Linked DNA regions of Homo sapiens: regions 1, 2, 3, 4 and 6 are each linked to region 5. The links are contacts of gene promoters, found by promoter capture Hi-C in human tissues and cell types (Jung and others, 2019). All regions are on one chromosome and are shown on one strand. Each heading gives the region's core, a stretch centred on a gene start or on the middle of the fragment in contact. The rest is flanking DNA. Distances are from core to core; before and after follow the strand shown.

Region 1 (2,947 bases), core at 259-2,758, 450 kb before region 5:
GAGGAAAATATGATGCTGGATCAATAATTGAGGAGAAATTATATTACAAATATTACAAAAGAAAGAAAACAGTGAGAGAATTATCTACATTTTCACCTCATCAGTCACTGCCTACAACTTGTGGCTAAATTTGAGTGAAAAGTTACTATCTAATCAATTCCAAAGCTTCTAAAAGTAGGAGACCTACTGTTATGTAAATCATCACCTGATTTCACAGTTAAATGTGTAAAAGTGAACAGTCTTTCACCAATTTTCTAGGCGACTGTGCTAAAGCTATCTTTAGAGAAATGAAATGTGACAGCAGTATAATTTCATTAGATATGTGGCCTATTTTAAAGCCTGAATGGGGGTAGGGGAGGGAAATAAAAGGGCTATTGTAAAAATTTATGCAGATTATAATAAAGGCAAACAGAGTAGTAGAGAAGTAGAATGTAACTGTCATAGCTGGCTTCCCAGGAGGTGAACTCTGAGATGTAGAATAGTGCTCAAGAAGTGTATTACAACTTCATACATATTCCTAGAATCAACTTTTGGGATGAGAAGGGAAGGAGAGGAAGCTGTATTTGCAGAGGAAAAAGTTTTACTGATGTACACTTGTAATAAGGAACTCTACAGCTGGAATCACCCTTCAGAGACTTCCTGAGTTGAGACAAAGACATCAAACTTTTTTCTCCTCAGGCTTCTCAGGGATGACTGAGACAGCAAACTTGTATAATCCTCTCCCCAGCCCCCACTTCCACATCAACCATGGGTTGGATTCAGGCTGCCCTGGGGAAGGGAGTTGTTGAGGTAAGTTAACAGGAGAAGGTCAATAATTGATCATTATCAGCAGGCATCATTCCCAGCAGCTGGGAGAGTAAGTCCTTCGGTTCTGAAAGGGGAACTGGACAGTGCATCACAGCATCTAATGCCATTTACTCTTTGGTCACTCAGATCCACTTCATGTAAGTTCAGGAAACAGCTCCTCCAGGATTCTGATAGTCCTCTTTTCTTGGGAAGAAACAGAACGGGGAGGTTTGTGGGATGAACTCTAGCGCGCACAGAGTCTCACGACTATTACTCATCTTTTCCTTTCCCTGCTATCCATTCTAGATCCTGCTTGCCTTCAGCTGGTGCCACTGCTGGACTAGGTGGCTCACCTGATGGGCATGAGCCAAATCCTCATCCTTGCAGGCTCTCAGCCTCTGGCCACCAGTTCTTTCTCAGGCAATGACTATTATACCCATTTACACTGAAAACTGGGCAAGAGAGTACCAAGAGACAACCAAGTGGATAGCTAGATGTCAAAGAGATGCCTCCATTCCCCCACTGTGTAATGACACCACGACTTCCTCCTGATAATCTGGGTGTATTATTTCTGCCAGGATGATGAATGCTCTTTAAAGCTGGCAACTTTTCATGTAACTCTTTTAGAAGCTTTTCCCTCTCTGGGAACCAGGATCTCTAAATCTGCAGAAGCCATGATTGTGGCGCTAGAAAGTACAGATGATAGTTAGCAGGAGAATGCTTACTTCTGCCCCTTAGCTCCCAGACCCATGTATTCTAACAACTGAAGACACAGCACCACACACTAGTCCTTGATTTAACTTGCATATTGCATCCTGGAGGATGGCAGCTCATCTTGCAGTGCATCATATCGGGCTTGTGCTTCAGTTGAGCCTCCCATGAACTATGCCATTGCTCTATAATCCCTGCAGGTCCCGGGTGGTATAGTATGTGACAGAACCTGTAGACCTTTTGGTTCATATTTTCATTGGTAAACCTCCTTTCCTGTTAAGTAGGCTCTCTGATGTGATGTTGCATGGGTTACCATATCAATGGATCAGACGCATGTCAGCCCTTGAATATGGGTTTTGGCTAAAGCCCCAAAAGTAGGAAAGGCAAACCTGGAGCTGAAAAATGTAACATATTTCCATCAAAATTAATTGTTTCTCCTCAGGGTAGAAAAAGAGCAATGATGCCCACTTGCCACCAGGTGGCTGCTTCATCTTCTGAAGACCAAGGTCCTCCCCATCAGTTACCATTGTAGGCAGTTGGGACTTTTGGCAGCGGCAATGGCTAGATCAGATGTGCAGCAGTTGTCCCTTAAGTGCAAGTTTGCTTTCCAGGGTCTTCGTGGCCTGTGGTACAGAGAGAGGGAGACCACATTCACATAACTTTCCTTACAGTATATTGTTATAATTATTCTATTTTCTTAGTGCTGTTTTTAATATCTTACTGTGCCTAATTTATAGACAAATCTTTATCATAGATACATGTGTATATGAAAAAAACAGAGTATATACAGGGTTCAGTACTATTCACAGTTATAGGTATCCACTGGGGGTCTTGGAACATAGCCCTCACAGATAAAGGGGGACTGCTATAGTTAGGGGGGACCTGTGCTGTTGGACTTTATATATATGGTCTCCATCTCTGCCAACAAGGTCACTGTTTCTGTGCCCACTGGGCCAGTGCTGGTGTGGCCAATCACCCAGGCTGGTAGGGTCAACTGGCTGAGCCATTCGTTCTCTTGGTTGTTCAGTGCTTCTTCCATCATGGGTGCTCTCTGGTTGGTGTTGACATGAGATACAAAGATCTTGCCATGGCTGTATCATTTCATTGTCCTCACTAAGTACTACTATCAGATCCATTTTCCTCAAACACTGCTTTATTTAAGTTATCCTCCTCGTTTAAAAGCATCAAAAGTGTTCCCCTTTTTCCTAAAGAAAAAATGAAACCAAAATTGTAAAACCTTCTCTAACCTTGTTCTAATTAACCTCTCTACTCCATACACAAAATATCGATGCAAATCGGAATGGTCTACATATCATCCCCCACAAATACGCAATTGGATTGCTTCTTTTGTGCTTTGCCCATACCATTTTACCCTTTTGAAAAGCTCTTCCTTCTCCTATTCATCTTTCAAAATGATCTAGATGAAAATATACATGGTAATCTAAGATCC
Region 2 (3,028 bases), core at 439-2,938, 400 kb before region 5:
AAAACCAGACAAGGCTTACAGGTTAGTTCAGATTCTGTGCCTTATCAACCAAATTGTTTTGCCTATCCACCCCATGGTGCCAAACCCATATACTCTCCTATCCTCAATACCTGCCTCTACAACCCATTATTCTGTTCTAGATCTCAAACATGCTTTGCTATTCCTTTGCACCCTTCATCGCAGCCTCTCTTTGCCTTCACTTAGACTGACCCTGACACCCATCAAGCTCAGCAAATTACCTGGGCTGTACTGCCGCAAGGCTTCACAGACAGCCCCCATTACTTCAGTCAAGCCCAGATTTCTTCCTCATCTGTTACCTATCTCAGCATAATTCTCATAAAAACACACGTGCTCTCCCTGCTGATCGTCTCTGATTAATCTCCCAAACCTCAATCCCTTACAAAAGAACAACTCCTTTCCTTCCTAGGCATAGTTAGTGCGGTCAGAATTCTTACTCAAGAGCCAGGACCACACCCTGTAGCCTTTCTGTCCAAACAACTTGACCTTACTGTTTTAGCCTAGCCCTCATGTCTGCGTGCAGTGGCTGCCACTGCTTTAATACTGTTAGAGGCCCTAAAAATCACAAAGTATGCTCAGCTCACTCTCTACATTTCTCATAACTTCCAAAATCTATTTTCTTCCTCATACCTGACGCATATACTTTCTGCTCCCCGGCTCCTTCAGCTGTACTCACTCTTTAAGTCCCACAATTACCATTGTTCCTGGCCCGGACTTCAATCCGGCCTCCCACATTATTCCTGATACCACACCTGACCCCCATGACTGTATCTCTCTGATCCACCTGATATTCACCCCCATTTCCCCATATTTCCTTCTTTCCTGTTCCTCACCCTGATCATGCTTGCCTCGTGCTATCCCCAAACTGCCATTCTTAACTCTTGAAGTAAATAAATAATCTTTGCTGGCAGGGCTATGCTGAATCTCCTTAGGCACTCTCTAATCAGATGTCCTGAGTAGTCCCAATTCTTAGACCTTTTATACCTGTTTTTCTCCTCCTCTTATTCCATTTAGTTTTTCAATTCATGCAAAACCGTATCCAGGCCATCACCAATCATTCTACACAACAAATGTTTCTTCTAACAACCCCACAATATCACCCCTTACCACAAAATCTTCCTTCAGCTTAATCTCTCCCACTTTAGGTTCCCACGCCGCCCCTAATCCCGCTCGAAGCAGCCCTGAGAAACATCGCCCATTCTCTCTCCACAACAACCCCCCAAAATTTTCGCCGCCCCTAGACTTCAACATTATTTTATTTTTCTTATTAATATAAGAAGGCAGGAATGTCAGGCCTCTGAGCCCAAGCCAAGCCATCGCATCCCCTGTGACTTGCACATATACATCCAGATGGCCTGAAGTAACTGAAGATCCACAAAAGAAGTAAAAATAGCCTTAACTGATGACATTCCACCATTGTGATTTGTTCCTGCCCCATCCTAACTAATCAATGTACTTAGTAATCTCCCCACCCTTAAGAAGGTTCTTTGTAATTCTCCCCACCCTTGAGAATGTACTTTGTGAGATCCACCCCTGCCCGCAAAACATTGCTCTTAACTTCATCGCCTATCCCAAAACCTATAAGAACTAATAATAATCCACCACTCTTTGCTGACTCTCTTTTCGGACTCAGCCCGCCTGCACCCAGGTGAAATAAACAGCTTTATTGCTCACACAAAGCCTGTTTGGTGGTCTCTTCACAGGGACGCACATGAAACTGATGGCTTCTGTACACTTAGTGAGAACTCAGGAAGAAGAAAATAATTTCCCTTTTATGGATTCATCTGAGCTGAGCACCAGATCCAGGACCTTCTAGTGAGCTTCAACAGTTTCATAACAAAATACATAAATGTGCTAACAATACTTGCCTCCTTTTCCTTTCGATCATTCTAAGACTTACTGGTGATCAAAGATAATTTTATATATATATATATTTTTTAAATGGCCCTTTTAGAGTTTTCCCGTAGTTCATTCAAATTGCTCTTATTGGCTTAACTATTCCCTGCATCAATGTATGATGATCGATCCTCTCATTTACCTAATATAGGAAGTCAAGGACCTAAATGAAAAATATTTATCTTACTGTTACAGTAAAACGGAATGACTTTCATTCCAAGTTCTACTTTGCTTTCTATACGTACGTGTTATTACATCTTGCGATTCCTTTTTTTATTCACCTGTGAAAAGTGAATCACATAAATATGTTATTTTTATTCATCTAGGAAAGTTAAATGTATTATTCACAGATAAGATTATGCAGCAAGACAATGGCCACACTGTCAGACTTGAGAGAAAATTTTAAAAATTAATGATTTTTCCCAACAGTATATCAACAACCAATTTTGAAGTACTTCGTTCATAGAAATTTTTATAGTGTAGAGAAAGAATCATTAAAATTTAGCTAGAGTCAGAAGGAAGAGGAGAGCAAGTCAGAAGATACGATGTAGAGAAAATCCTCCTACTGGGTGTTATGGGGAAGAGGGAGAGAGAGGTGGTACATGGTCGAATGTGTGCAAATTAATTTTAGGTTCTCTAGGCTCTATGTGTTTTGGGAGATGAGGGGTGGCGAGTGAGAGAAAGATACTTAGATACTATATGAGATAAGACCAAGGTGGGTTGGGCTGGGGGATCCAGGAGAAAGCAGCTCCCCAGCTGCCCCCTATCCACCTACTGGGGCACAGCCCCTGCAGAATAAACCTGGCAGCCTGAAGTTGAGCTTTCTTGAGTCATTCTGTACCATCTTTCAAGAGGTTTTGCCAAGAAAAATTTGGAACTTGGAAAAATTTTGGTACAACCAACGTGTGCCACCCATCAGCTGACAGAGGTACATTGGTCCCAGCCCCAGGAGTAGGGCAATGCCTATTTATTCTACTGAATGGTTTGTTTGAGTGAAAGTTAAGCAGGCTCTCTTCATTTTTCAAAACTAAACCTTTACTAAGGGCAACTTAAACATTCAACAGTTAAGTTTACTTTCTTATAGAAGAAGTCTTTCAAGTTAAACAAAAACTTA
Region 3 (2,995 bases), core at 368-2,867, 470 kb before region 5:
CGTATGTAGAGATAATGCTTGGAAGTTGCCAATGTTTGTTTCATCTGTAATAGGAAGGGGAAACAAGGAAAAAACTAATTCATACAACGACTTAAGATCTGAAGGACAATAATAGAAATAATCAATCATCTTTCCAAAGAAAAATGAATTATGAGCAGAACCACTGCCCAGCTGGGAGATTTAGGAACATTTATTTCAACCAACATTTATTGAGCACTGTTAGATGCCAGGTTCTGGGAGATTCTTTGCTTCACATGGCACTCCAGGCCTATCTGCTTTGTCTTAGAAGACACAATCCTCATTAAGGCTTAGGTCTGTTTTATCTGCAGTGATGGGTGGGGATACACCTAGGCCTGTCACATTCACACAAATTATCACTAATAAAGCATCAAGTCTTAATGGGACAACAATTACTGAGTCAAAAATCTAAGGTAAGGGTCTCGGCAGGCTGGCAAGGGAAGATTCAGCAAATCTGGGCAACACCACAAAGCCTTCTTACCCAGTGAGATAGAAGCATGAAGTGGATTGGTTAATAGAAGATTATTTAAAATAACTATTCACAAAAGAGGTATACACATATGCTTTTATTTTTTATTACATTTATTTACAATCTTTTGGTTGTCAGGTCCAAGACTTTTCTTTGGGTAAACATCCAAGAGCAGACTCTCTGTCTTTCTTGCATCAACCACACTCAGAATGTATTATCTAAGATTTCTAGTTTGTGGCTTCTAAAAGTAGAATAAGGACATAGAGACCTTTAAAGGCAACTTGACCTCACAGAATCTCCCCTTGGATTTCAAGTTTTTCATGACTTTCCTTCTGTTATTTCAGAGTCATCTAATGCACACCTATTTTGAAAGTGTTTTTAAGTCTTCGAAAATATTGAACTTAATTTTCATGTTTTTTTCCAGTTCATATTTTACCATTTTTGGAAAGAGGTAAATTACATAATTATAAAAGCAATTCAACCAGCATAGCAGGTTTAATTGCTAACAGGGTTGACTTGTGGTAAGGCTTGTAAGAGCAGAAGTGCATGGGTATGCAGAAGTTGCACACTAGTGGCAAGCATTCAGTAAGTTGTGGGTATCAGTCAGTATTAAACAAAGGGAAAGGAAAGCATCAATTAGTCCAAATGAAGGACTCAACTCATGATGTCCAATGCAAGATGCCACAATGCAATTACTTCAATAGAGAAACTCAGTAGTCTGCAGTCTTCTATCAAGGTCAACTCTTAGAGCTAGCTCAGCTTTCCTGGGTCTTATGAGTTAGAGTTTGCTTATAGGAACTCTGATTTCCCTGAAAGAAAAATATTATCTTTACTTAGGCTGAAATCTTCAGTGTGACAAAATAATCTTCTGGGTGCCTCAGAAATATGCTTGGGGAGCTTTTGCAGTTTATTGCTGAATGTAGTGTCCTCAAAACACATGTTCATTTCATAATTATTATATTCAGACTGTGTCCATAAGAGATAACACTGTTGACCCTAAATTTAGAAATATTTAGTGTTTGGGAACACCAGAATAGCAATATAAATATAAAATATTTGCAGAAATATTGTTCATAATACCTTTCTAGACCATAAAAACCATTGTTGTGTTTTCCAGTTCACTAAATTAAATACTAATAACCTTTTCTACCATGCTTCCTGAAAGCTTTTCAACATGACAAAATTCCAAATTGCAGAAGCTTTTAGGCAGAAAATTGTTAAACAAAATATTCAGTATTTATCATGAAGTAAATTCTCTAAGAACCGAGCATGATGATGTGTGCCTGTAATCCCAACTACTCACGAGGATGAGGTAGAAGAATGGCTTGAGCCTAGGAGTTTGACAGCAGCCTGGGCAACATAGCAAAGCCTCATCTGAAAAAAAGTATGGAAATTCCCTAAAGAACCCAGCAGTCATAAAAGTTTCCTGATGAAAATATGCTTCATCCATGATATGATTCATAAAAGCTTGTGAATCTCTGGTTCCCAGAAGGTAATCAATCAAAGCCCATTATATACAAAGTGCTCCAGTTTTTCCTTAGTGCTCTAATGGAGCTTATGTTTGTTTTTAAATTCCAATAAGCTAAAGAGCACATATGTATACTTTCAATGCTGTCAACAAGATTTACTGTCATTTTTAAATGGTCTTTTAAAAGATTTGTCTAAGTGAGTGAAATCTTCCAATTTAGAGCCATTTTTCTAACTGAAATAAAAGCCAAAAGATATATTTTCTCCTTAAGCATTAAATTTCCTTAAACATCGAGTTCTATGTCTAACATATAATTTTGAAAAGTCATTATTTTATAGAATTAAAAGTAAAGCAGTAACTTTTTGAGGCACACAATAATGTTTTGGGTTCACATAATATAGAAGTTTAACTGTAGTAAATGCTGAATAAATGCCAAGATTGTTTCTGTGTGTAAATGCAGTGGACAAATACATTCATTTAATAGCTAAAGGATGTGCGGCTTAATGCCTCGGTGATGGGTTGACAGGTGCAGCAAACCACCATGGCACACGTTTACCTATGTAACAAACCTGCGTGTTCTGCCCATGTATCCTGGAATCTAAAATAAAATGAAATTTTAAAAAATTCACTCAACAAGCACTAATAAAACAAGCCTTAATAAATGTACAGACGGTATTAAGTCTATTGGAAATGGTACCACAATGTGTGACTTTTAGCAGTGTGTTCTAATTTCTGTTATTCAAAGGATTATTTTCAGCATTTTTTACCTCAACTTTTTGTGATGTTTAATATTGCCCACAATACCCTCCTTGAGATACTGCCATTCCTTTATTTTCATTACATGGCATTTTCTTTTATTTTCCTTTTTTTTTTTTTTTTAGACAGAGTCTTGTTCTGTTGCCCAGGCTGGAGTGCACTGGTGCGATCTCGGCTCACTGCAACCTCCGCCTCCTGGGTTCAAGCGATTCTCCTGCCTCAGCCTCCTGAGTAGCTGGGACTACAGGCACCCATCATCACACCCAGCTAATTTTTGTATTTTT
Region 4 (3,168 bases), core at 184-2,683, 270 kb before region 5:
GCCCAGATCATGCCACTGCACTCCAGCCTGGGAGACAGAGCAAGACTCCATCTCAAAACAAACAAACAAACAAAAAACAACTACAAAAAAAAAAAAAACATAAAGAACCAAATCCAATCCAAGACCATTCAGATTCCAGATAAAAAAGCTGCAGGAAGGTGTCTTGTGTCTATGGTTTCTGGACAAAAATTCTCTGAAATGGAATTTGAAGAAAAGAGACATTATTCCAGTGAACAGCTTACAAGCCAAGAAGATGGAGCTATCAGTGAAAAAGAATAATGCAGTCCCTGGAAGTCCAAGCCAGAGCAATCAGACGAGAGAAAATACAGGGAATCCAAATCAGTAAAGAGGAAGATGAACTGTCTCTGTATGCCAGTGATATGATCGTATACCTAGAAAACCCTAACCACTCATCCAAAAAACTCCTGGAACTGATAGGTGAATTCAGTAAAGTTTCAAGATACAAAGTACACAAATCAGTAGCATTGCTATACACCAATAACGACCAAGCTGAGAATTAAATCAAGAACTCAATCTCTTTTACAATAACTGCAAAAAATAAATAAATGAAATACATAGGAATATACCTAAACAAAGAGATGAAAGACCTCTAAAAGGAAAACTACAAAACACTGCTGAAAGAAATCATAGACGACACAAACAAATGGAAATACATCCCATGCTCATGGATGGGTAGAATCGATATTGCGAAAATGACCATACTGCCAAAAGCAATCTACAAATTCAATGCAATTCCCAACAAAATACCACCATCATTCTTCACAGAACTAGAAAACAAAATCCTAAAATTCATATGAAACCAAAAAAGAGCCCACATAGCCAAAGCAACACTAAACAAAAAGAGCAAATCTGGAGGCATCACATTACTCACCTTCAAACTATACTACCAGGCTATGGTCACCTTGTATGCTCAAAACAGCGTGGTACTGGCATAAAAACAGACACATAGATCAATGGAACAGAATAGAGAACCCAGAAATAAACCTAAATACTTACAGCCAACTGATATTCAACAAAACAGACAAAAACAGAAAGTGGGGAAAGGATGCCCTGTTCAACAAATGGTACTAGGATAATTGGCAGGCCACATGTAGAAGAATGAAACTGGATCCTCATCTCTAACCTTATACGAAAATCAACTGAAGACAGATTAGATTTAAATCTAACATCTGAATCCATAAAAATTCTAGAAGATAACATTAGAAAAACCTTTCTAGACATTGGCTTAGGCAAAGATTGACTAAGAACCCAAAAGCAAATGTAACAAAAACAAAGATAAATAGACGGGACTTAATTAAACTAAAAAGCTTCTGCGTAGCAAAAGAAAAAACAGCAGAATAAACAGACGACCCACAGAGTTGGAGAAAATCTTTGCCAAGTATGCATCCGACAAAGGACTAATATCCAGAATCTACAATGAACTCAAACAAATCAGTAAGTAAAAAACAAACAATCCTATCAAAAAGTGGTCTAAGGAAATGAATAGACAATTCTCAAAAGAAAATATACAAATGACCAACACACATGTGAAAAAATGCTCAACATCACTAATGATCAAGGAAATGCAAGTCAAAACAACATTGTGATACCATTTTACTCCTGCAGGAATGACCATAATTTAAAAACTAAAAAAAAAGAATAGATATTGCTGTGGAGGTGGTGAAAAGGGAACACTTTTACACTGTTGGTGGAAATGTAAACTAGTACAACCACTATGGAAAGCAGTGTGGAGATTCCTTACAAAACTAAAAGTAGATTTACCATTTGATCCAGCAAACTCACTACTGGGTATCTATCTATCCAGAGGAAAATAACTAATTATATGAAAAAGACACTAACACATACATGTTTAAAGCAGCACAATTAGCAATTGCAAAAATATGGAACCAGCCCAATGCCCATCAATCAATGAGTGGATAAAGAAAATGTGATATACATACCATAGAATACTATTCATTCATAAAAAAATGAATTAATGGCATTCACAGCAACCTGGATAGAGTTGGAGACCATTACTCTTAGTGAACTAACTCAGGAATGGAAAACCAAACATCGTATGTGCTCACTTATAAATGGGAACTAAGCTTTGAGGACTCAAAGGAATAAGAATAATACAATGGACTTTGAGGACTCAGAGGGAATTGTGGGCAGGGTGAGGGATAAAAGACTAACATTGGATACAGTGTACACTACTTGGGTGATGGGTGCACCAAAATGTCAGAAATCATCACTAAATAACTTATGTAACCAAACACCACCTGGTCCCCCAAAACCTATTGAAATATAAAAATAAAAATAAAGAATAGTGAAATCCAGAGAACAAAAGGAAGTTTCAGCTTTTATAGAGAAAGTTCCCACCCAGCTTCCCAATCAGATTGAAAAATGAAAAATTCAAAGGTCCCATTTCTAATTGGTTGACACAGTTGAATTCTGATTACTCAATATAGTTGATCCCTGATTGGTTGTTATAGCTAAGAACTAAGCATTGGCTGGTTGATATAACTGACCCCTGATTGGCCAGAGCAGATGAGCGCTGATTGGTTGGTTCCTGTGACCTCTGAAAGTCCCAAAGTTAAACAGAGGTGTGGGTTTTGGGGGAATGCAGACTGTGTGACCCCTAGTAAGAAAATGGCCACTTGGCTCTATTTTACAAGGTGTTGTTCTGTCATCCAGGCCACAGTGCAATGGTGAGAATGTAGCTCACTGAAGCCTTAAACACCTGAGCTCAAGGTATCCTCCCACCTCAGCCTCTGGAGTAGTTAGGAATAAAGGCACACTCCACCAAACTCAGCTAATTTTACATTTTTTTGTAGAGACAGAGTCTTTTTATTCTGCCCATTCTGGTCTCAAACTGTTGGCCTCAAGCAATCCTCCTGCCTTGACTTCTCAAACCTCTAGGATTACAGGCATGAGCCACCACCAAGCCCAGCCTCTGTTTTAAATTTAGATACAGTTAGCCACTTGAAATCCTTCTTGAAGGATTGGCTCTTCCAGTTTCATATCTGCTCACAGGTTTATCAGTCATAATATATAAATTACAACAGAAAGTTCGTTTATTTTCCTTTTCCTCCTATCATGTGAAATAAGGCTGCTACTGATATAACCAGTTATGAATGTGTGTTGCAATATTGTCAAATTTGTTTCCTC
Region 5 (2,751 bases), core at 251-2,750:
CCAATCAGACTTGTGGAAGACCAATGGGAAACCTCTAGAAGGTATTTAAACCCCAGAAAATTCTGCAACCTGTGCTTTTGAGCAGCTTGCCACAGCCTGCTTCCACGCAGTGGAGTAGTGTACTTTCATTTAAAATAAATCTCTGCTTTCGCTGCCTTGCTTTATTTGTGTGTTTTGTCCAATTATTTGTTCAAAACGCCAAGGACCTAGCCAACTACCCTCAACTGTTAACAGCTGCACACACATATCAAGGCACACCAGCTTCACCCTGCCTGGAGCTTCTTCCCATGCCTAGTTTTCTCTTACAATTCCGGTCTCTGCTCAATTATCACTTCTAAAAGAGGACTTTATAGAGACCACCATGTGTAAAACAGCTTTTCTACATGCCCCCGCCAGCTAATTTTTATTAGAGTACTTATATTATTTGAAATAATATTTTTACATGCCTCCATCCCCTGGAAAATGAGCTGAGTGAGGGATATTGTTGGAGTATCCCCAGTACCAGGCACACAGTAGGCATTCAATAAATAGTTTTTGAATGATTACATTGTCTACGGAATTCTAACATGTATGGGTGAAACAAAGACTCTCACATGCTGTGAGAAGAAAACAAAAACTGGGTTGGCAGAGGCCTTGAATATGAGGAAGTGGCCTTTCCGGATAAAGAAACTAAGACTCGGCCGGGCGTGGTGGCTCAGGCCTGTAATCTCAGCACTTTGGGAGGCCGAGGCGGACGGATCACCTGAGATCAGGAGTTCGAGACCAGCCTGGCCAACACGGCGAAACCCCGTCTCTACTAAAAATACAAAAAAAAAAAAAAAAAAAAAAAATTAGCCGGGCGTGGTGGCGGAGGCCTGTAATTCCAGCTGTTCGGGAGGCTGAGGCAGGAGAATCGCTTGAACCCGGGAGGAAGAAAGAAAGAGGGAATGAGGGAAGGCGGGAAAGAGGGAAAGAAGAAAAGAAAAGAAAGGAAAGAGAAGAGGGGCGGGGCGGGGCAGGGCAGGGCAGGGCAGGGCAGGGCAAAAAAAGACTCAGTGCAGGAAAGGACTTGCCCAAGGTAATCTAGTACGTGGAAAAGCGGAGGGCAGGAGCCTGTGCCGTGCAAGAGCTCCGGGGAGCCAACACCGAGCGGCCCTTTTGAGAGGGTCCCAGCCCCTGAGATGCGGGAGCCCGCAAGAGGGAACCTCTTGTCTGAAGAGGTTGCTGCGCTCTGGAGTCGTGCTCTGGGACAGATGGGCAAGCTCCGCTCTTGGGGCCGGAAGCGTGTAGCGTCTCCACCCGGGCTCCAATCCCCAGCCTCGCACTCAGCACCAGGCAGAGTTCAGCCTCCCGCCGCAAGCTCCCTTCCGCCGCTCCCGGCGAGCACGCAGGTCTGGCTGTCCGTTGGGCTAGAGCTTAAAAGCCCAACACGGGCGAAAAAGACGCGGTCTCAGTTAACGGGGACGCTTTAGAGAAACGCACTCGCCTCTCCTGTTCCGGTTGGGTCGGCGCGGGCTTCTCAGGCGCCACGTGGGATTCGGCCCGGGTGCTCTTGTGAGCTGCTGCTCCTGCGGTTGGTGAGATTACCTGGGTCTAGAGTGCGGAGCTGCTCCGTGGCCACGAGGACGTCACCATGGTGGGCCCCCTCCTGCTCCCCCGAACCGCTCGGTTGGTTCCCCGGAAGGCTCTTGTTGAGCAGGCAGAGAGGGAGGGTGCGGTTTCGGGAACCTAGGAGAGGGGAGGATGCAAAGTGTTTATTTTCAGGGAGTGTGCGGGGTGCGGGGCGAAGCCTCTGGGAGGCGAGTCCCAGGCCCAACGCCTGGACCTTAGAGTTCCGCGTCCGAGTGCTGAAGTGCTCACACGTCGCCTTGCTCCTCTTTGCCTTGTGCCTAACTTCTCGCTAGTCACTACTTCCTGGGGGAAACCCGGCACCTTTCCATTGTAACGCATCGAGGAGTTTGGCAAAACTTCTGAGATCGCTGGCCCTACACACCTCTGCCTCTCTGGCCTGGGTAGACTCAGTATGTGGGCTTAGTCGCCTCTTCCTCGGCGTCCGTTCACCTCTCGTTAGTGCCCTGAATCCTGCCGTTACGCCCCCATTCGCTCCAGGGCACTGAAGCAGTTTTGTTGTTTTTATTAAAAACTGAGTAGATACAAAAGAGTGTTACTAAAGCACATTTCAAGTGTAAAGATGAACAGTTTCAGGAATTCTCGTTTACCCATTTTGTAGTTTTAAGAAATAAAACATAGCCTTTGAAAGCCCTGTGTTACCTTCTTTGAACTTTCAGGAAACCTTAAGAAGCAAACATTATCTAAGTTTTGTATTTATAATTTCACTACTTTTCTTTATAGTTACTACATATATTTGTATTTTGAAACAGTATGTTGTTTCTTGCCTATTTTTTACGTAATCGTTGTGTTCTTGAGAGTAATTCTTGCATAGAAACATGCTTTATAAATTTTTTTCAATTAATTTTTAATAAAAGCAAAATTTTAAAAGTTTATAATCTGGTCAGAAGTTACGATATTGTGTCCACAATGTGGCCTCTTTGTTTCTTTTCATTTTTTTCTCTTTTCATTGTATGCCATTTTTGTCTTACAGTCTGGTTCTTTCGTTGTTTCGCGAGTTTTTTGTGCTTTATTTTGATCCACTGCTGACGCATATTTTGTACTTTAGATTGTACACATTTGTGTAAATTCAGTGTTTGCTTGTCACTTTGCTTGTGGGATTTCCAACTCTTTATAGTGTTAGTTTTTTTCCCCTTTTCAGAG
Region 6 (2,943 bases), core at 380-2,879, 360 kb before region 5:
TTGGAGAAGCTTACAAAGAACCTTATTGTGCCATTTTAAATAATTGAACATCATCTTAAGAGCAGGAGGGAGGAAGTAAGGATTTTAATTGGGAATAGTTTATTTCAGAGAGATTACTCTGGTAGTATTTTGCTATCACTCCTAAAATCAGAGAAAAATTCATGTTTCTTATATGCAAATTAATTCAAATTTCCATTCATTAAATACATTTATTCAACCATAAAGTATACGGTGGCATATTAAAAATGGCTATGAAGATGAACATGATACAACCGTAGGTAATTTTTAGGTCCTTTATGCAGCCCAACATTTCATAGCACATAATTTCTCTTATTTTCCTTTATGCAAGCTTTCTATTTTCACATCACGCAATGTTTCTCCTTTTTCTCTTTTTAAGTTTAAACCTCACAAATTTCTAATTTTAATCTATGATCAATACCAGGCAATAATTCTAGACTACAAAGTTTCACCAACAAATATTACAAAATTAAATCCCAAGATACTTAATGATCCAGTTCAAGCTACCTGGAAAAAACAAACACCATGAACTAGGTGAGATGTAATTTTGCAATTAACCTAGTCAAACCAATTTTACAAATAACTCGCATTGTTGTAATTGGTAACTTCAATGCTTAGGTCCGAAACAAGAGGGATTCATTAGAATATCTGGATTTTGGCCAGGTGCGGTGGCTCACGCCTGAAATCTCAGCACTTTGAGAGGCAGAGAGGGGTGGATTACTGGAGGTCAGGAGTTCAAGACTAGCCTGGACAACATTGTGAAACCCCGTCTCTAATAAAAATACAAAATTAGCTGGGCGTGGTGGCATGCGCCTGTAATCTCAGCTACTCAGGAGGCTGAGGCAGGAGAATTGCTTGAACCCGGAGGCAGAGTTTGCGGTGAGCTGAGACCGTGCCACTGCATTGCAGCCTGGGCAGAAAGAGCAAAACTCCATCCCCTACCCAAAAAAAGAAAAAAAGAATATCTGGATTTTAAAAGAAATATGATTTGAGATGTTTATGAATCTCTAAACACGTTTAAAACATGTAATTCCAGTAATAAGATGCTATAGATACTCTAAAACTTAATTCAGAACATTAAGTGAATATTCAGAGCCTTAACTGAAATCACATAAATACATAACATTAATTAGAAAACATAATTCCATTTCAATTCAGATACTAAGCAAGGATCATTCACTGGTTAAGTGATTCATACCTGTATAGAACCCTCCAAGTGGGCATAAACCTGATTCATACCTCAGTAAAATTAGAAACACAGATCATGATTTACGATTGCTTTAAACATCTAAAATGGCCAAGGTTAAATCGGTAAGTATCAAAAATCTGTAATACTGGCTGGGCAAGGGGCTCATGCCTGTAATCCCAGCACTTTGGGGAGCCAAGGCAGAAGCTTGCTTGAGGGCTGGAGAATCACTTGAGGCCAAGAGCTTGAGACCAGCCTGGGCAACACACTGAGACCCCCATGTCTATATTTGTTAAAAAAAAAAAAAACAAAAAAAAAACTGTAATACTGAGAAAACTTCATAAGAACTGCTGAGCAAGCTTTAAAAACTCTCATGTATAATTTTTACTTATAAAAATATTTATATACATTTTTATTTTATACTGTATAAATACATGCTATTTTTAAGAAATGAATATATTCATTGTTGTAATTCAAAAAAAAAACCCCTCAAGATAATCTGCTTAAACACTTTCATGGAATGTTAACCAAGTAATCCTATTAAATCATTAACTTATTTACATATTATTCCTAAATTTACTTCACATCTCTAGGAAGACTAGATTATCAAGTCACCTTGGGGCATAAAACTATTGTTTTGCTGACATAGATACAAAAAGAAAATCAAGGTCTCTTTTTAGAAAGGTAGTTATATCGTAAAAAGTAGAGAGGTAGGTAGCTTCCAATGATCTTGTGCTTCCAATGATTCTGTACTTCCAAAAGAAGGACAGCTATTAAAAGCACCATGTCTTCATGTCCCATATGGTGTATTTACTAAACTCAATTAAATTTTTAAAAAATAATGACAGCCTGCCTTTATCAGACATCAACAAAGTTGACAAAAATAGTAAACTACAATGTAAATGATAAGGTGATAATTATTAAAATACAACTAAATGTAACTGAAAAAAGTTTTTTTCCTAAATGATCAATCAAAACCTTTCACTGAAAGGTATGAAATAGTCATCTAGGACGGTGAGAGAATACATGCGCTAGGACAGGATAAGGCAGTATGGCTGCTAGCCAGTATTAATGACTTCCCTAACAGCAAGAATGATAAAATTTATAAGATTAAGTCCTGCCCTACTTTATAAAATGTTGCATAAAAAGACTTATACTTACCTCTGGTGGTGGTTCCTGATCATTCTTCCATGATGCATCTGATCCCTTATCCCTGAGTGGGGTGGGGATGGGAGTCAAAAAAGTATTCATCACAATTCTATTAAGTGCTCATAACTTAAAAGTACAGAAAATAATAAAGTAAAGGACATGAGTTCAACCTTTAATTTTGCAATACAGTTATGTGTCTTTTACCTTATTTCAAAAGATGTGGGAAGCTCCTAAGAAAAACACAAAAGTTGAGCAAGTAGAAATATTAGGATTAGGGAACTGGAATGAGAAGCCAAGGCTATGGTGTGCAGTGGAAAGCAGATGGACAGCTCTTTTGATTTTTGTTTTCATAATATTTGCAGTTTTCACAAAACTCAGTTTAAAAAAAATGCTTATTTCACGCCAACTGTAGATCAGAAGTTGTTCCATGTGCGAAGGACATAAAAATGACTATGAGGCATTCCCTTTTCACAGATTTTACAGGTTTAATGGCAGAGATATCAATATGAATTATTTTCTCCTCAGTTTACCTGAGGAATGTCAGCAATCCTCTATGAGTAACCAAGGCTTATTCCAACACTGATTCTCAA

What was found. The method cuts DNA at HindIII sites, captures the fragments that hold promoters and counts their contacts. A contact is called where the count stands out against the background at its distance.
Region 1: a contact is called between a fragment that was not itself captured here and the fragment with the promoter of TMA16 in region 5, in 1 of the 25 tissues and cell types used here (hippocampus).
Region 2: a contact is called between a fragment that was not itself captured here and the fragment with the promoter of TMA16 in region 5, in 1 of the 25 tissues and cell types used here (lymphoblastoid cells).
Region 3: a fragment that was not itself captured here is called in contact with the fragment with the promoter of TMA16 in region 5 in 1 of the 25 tissues and cell types used here (mesenchymal stem cells).
Region 4: a contact is called between a fragment that was not itself captured here and the fragment with the promoter of TMA16 in region 5, in 1 of the 25 tissues and cell types used here (mesenchymal stem cells).
Region 6: a fragment that was not itself captured here is called in contact with the fragment with the promoter of TMA16 in region 5 in 4 of the 25 tissues and cell types used here (H1 embryonic stem cells, aorta, heart left ventricle and 1 more).

Annotation. Positions count from the first base shown.
Region 1 is chr4:163,046,670-163,049,616 of GRCh38, forward strand. No RefSeq gene overlaps it. Among named protein-coding and RNA genes, the nearest start is that of MIR4454, 45 kb to the right of the region's middle. The HindIII fragment of the contact is 5,549 bases long and covers 1-2,947 here.
Region 2 is chr4:163,096,177-163,099,204 of GRCh38, forward strand. No RefSeq gene overlaps it. Among named protein-coding and RNA genes, the nearest start is that of MIR4454, 4.1 kb to the left of the region's middle. The HindIII fragment of the contact is 7,940 bases long and covers 1-3,028 here.
Region 3 is chr4:163,027,508-163,030,502 of GRCh38, forward strand. No RefSeq gene overlaps it. Among named protein-coding and RNA genes, the nearest start is that of MIR4454, 65 kb to the right of the region's middle. The HindIII fragment of the contact is 3,488 bases long and covers 1-2,995 here.
Region 4 is chr4:163,223,141-163,226,308 of GRCh38, forward strand. No RefSeq gene overlaps it. Among named protein-coding and RNA genes, the nearest start is that of NAF1, 58 kb to the left of the region's middle. The HindIII fragment of the contact is 4,814 bases long and covers 1-3,168 here.
Region 5 is chr4:163,493,190-163,495,940 of GRCh38, forward strand. It overlaps TMA16 (translation machinery associated 16 homolog), which reads left to right and starts at 1,501. Exons shown (of 7, transcript NM_018352.3): 1 at 1,501-1,615. The coding sequence starts at 1,613. LOC124900805 (a long non-coding RNA gene) reads right to left here and starts at 2,035. Exons shown (of 2, transcript XR_007058354.1): 1 at 1,973-2,035; 2 at 1-1,707. RefSeq lists a cis regulatory region at 1-110 and enhancers at 1,392-2,294, 1,758-1,897, 1,928-2,077. The HindIII fragment of the contact is 18,907 bases long and covers 1-2,751 here.
Region 6 is chr4:163,134,834-163,137,776 of GRCh38, forward strand. NAF1 (nuclear assembly factor 1 ribonucleoprotein) reads right to left here. Exons shown (of 8, transcript NM_138386.3): 6 at 2,366-2,417. Among named protein-coding and RNA genes, the nearest start is that of NAF1, 31 kb to the right of the region's middle. The HindIII fragment of the contact is 4,272 bases long and covers 1-2,943 here.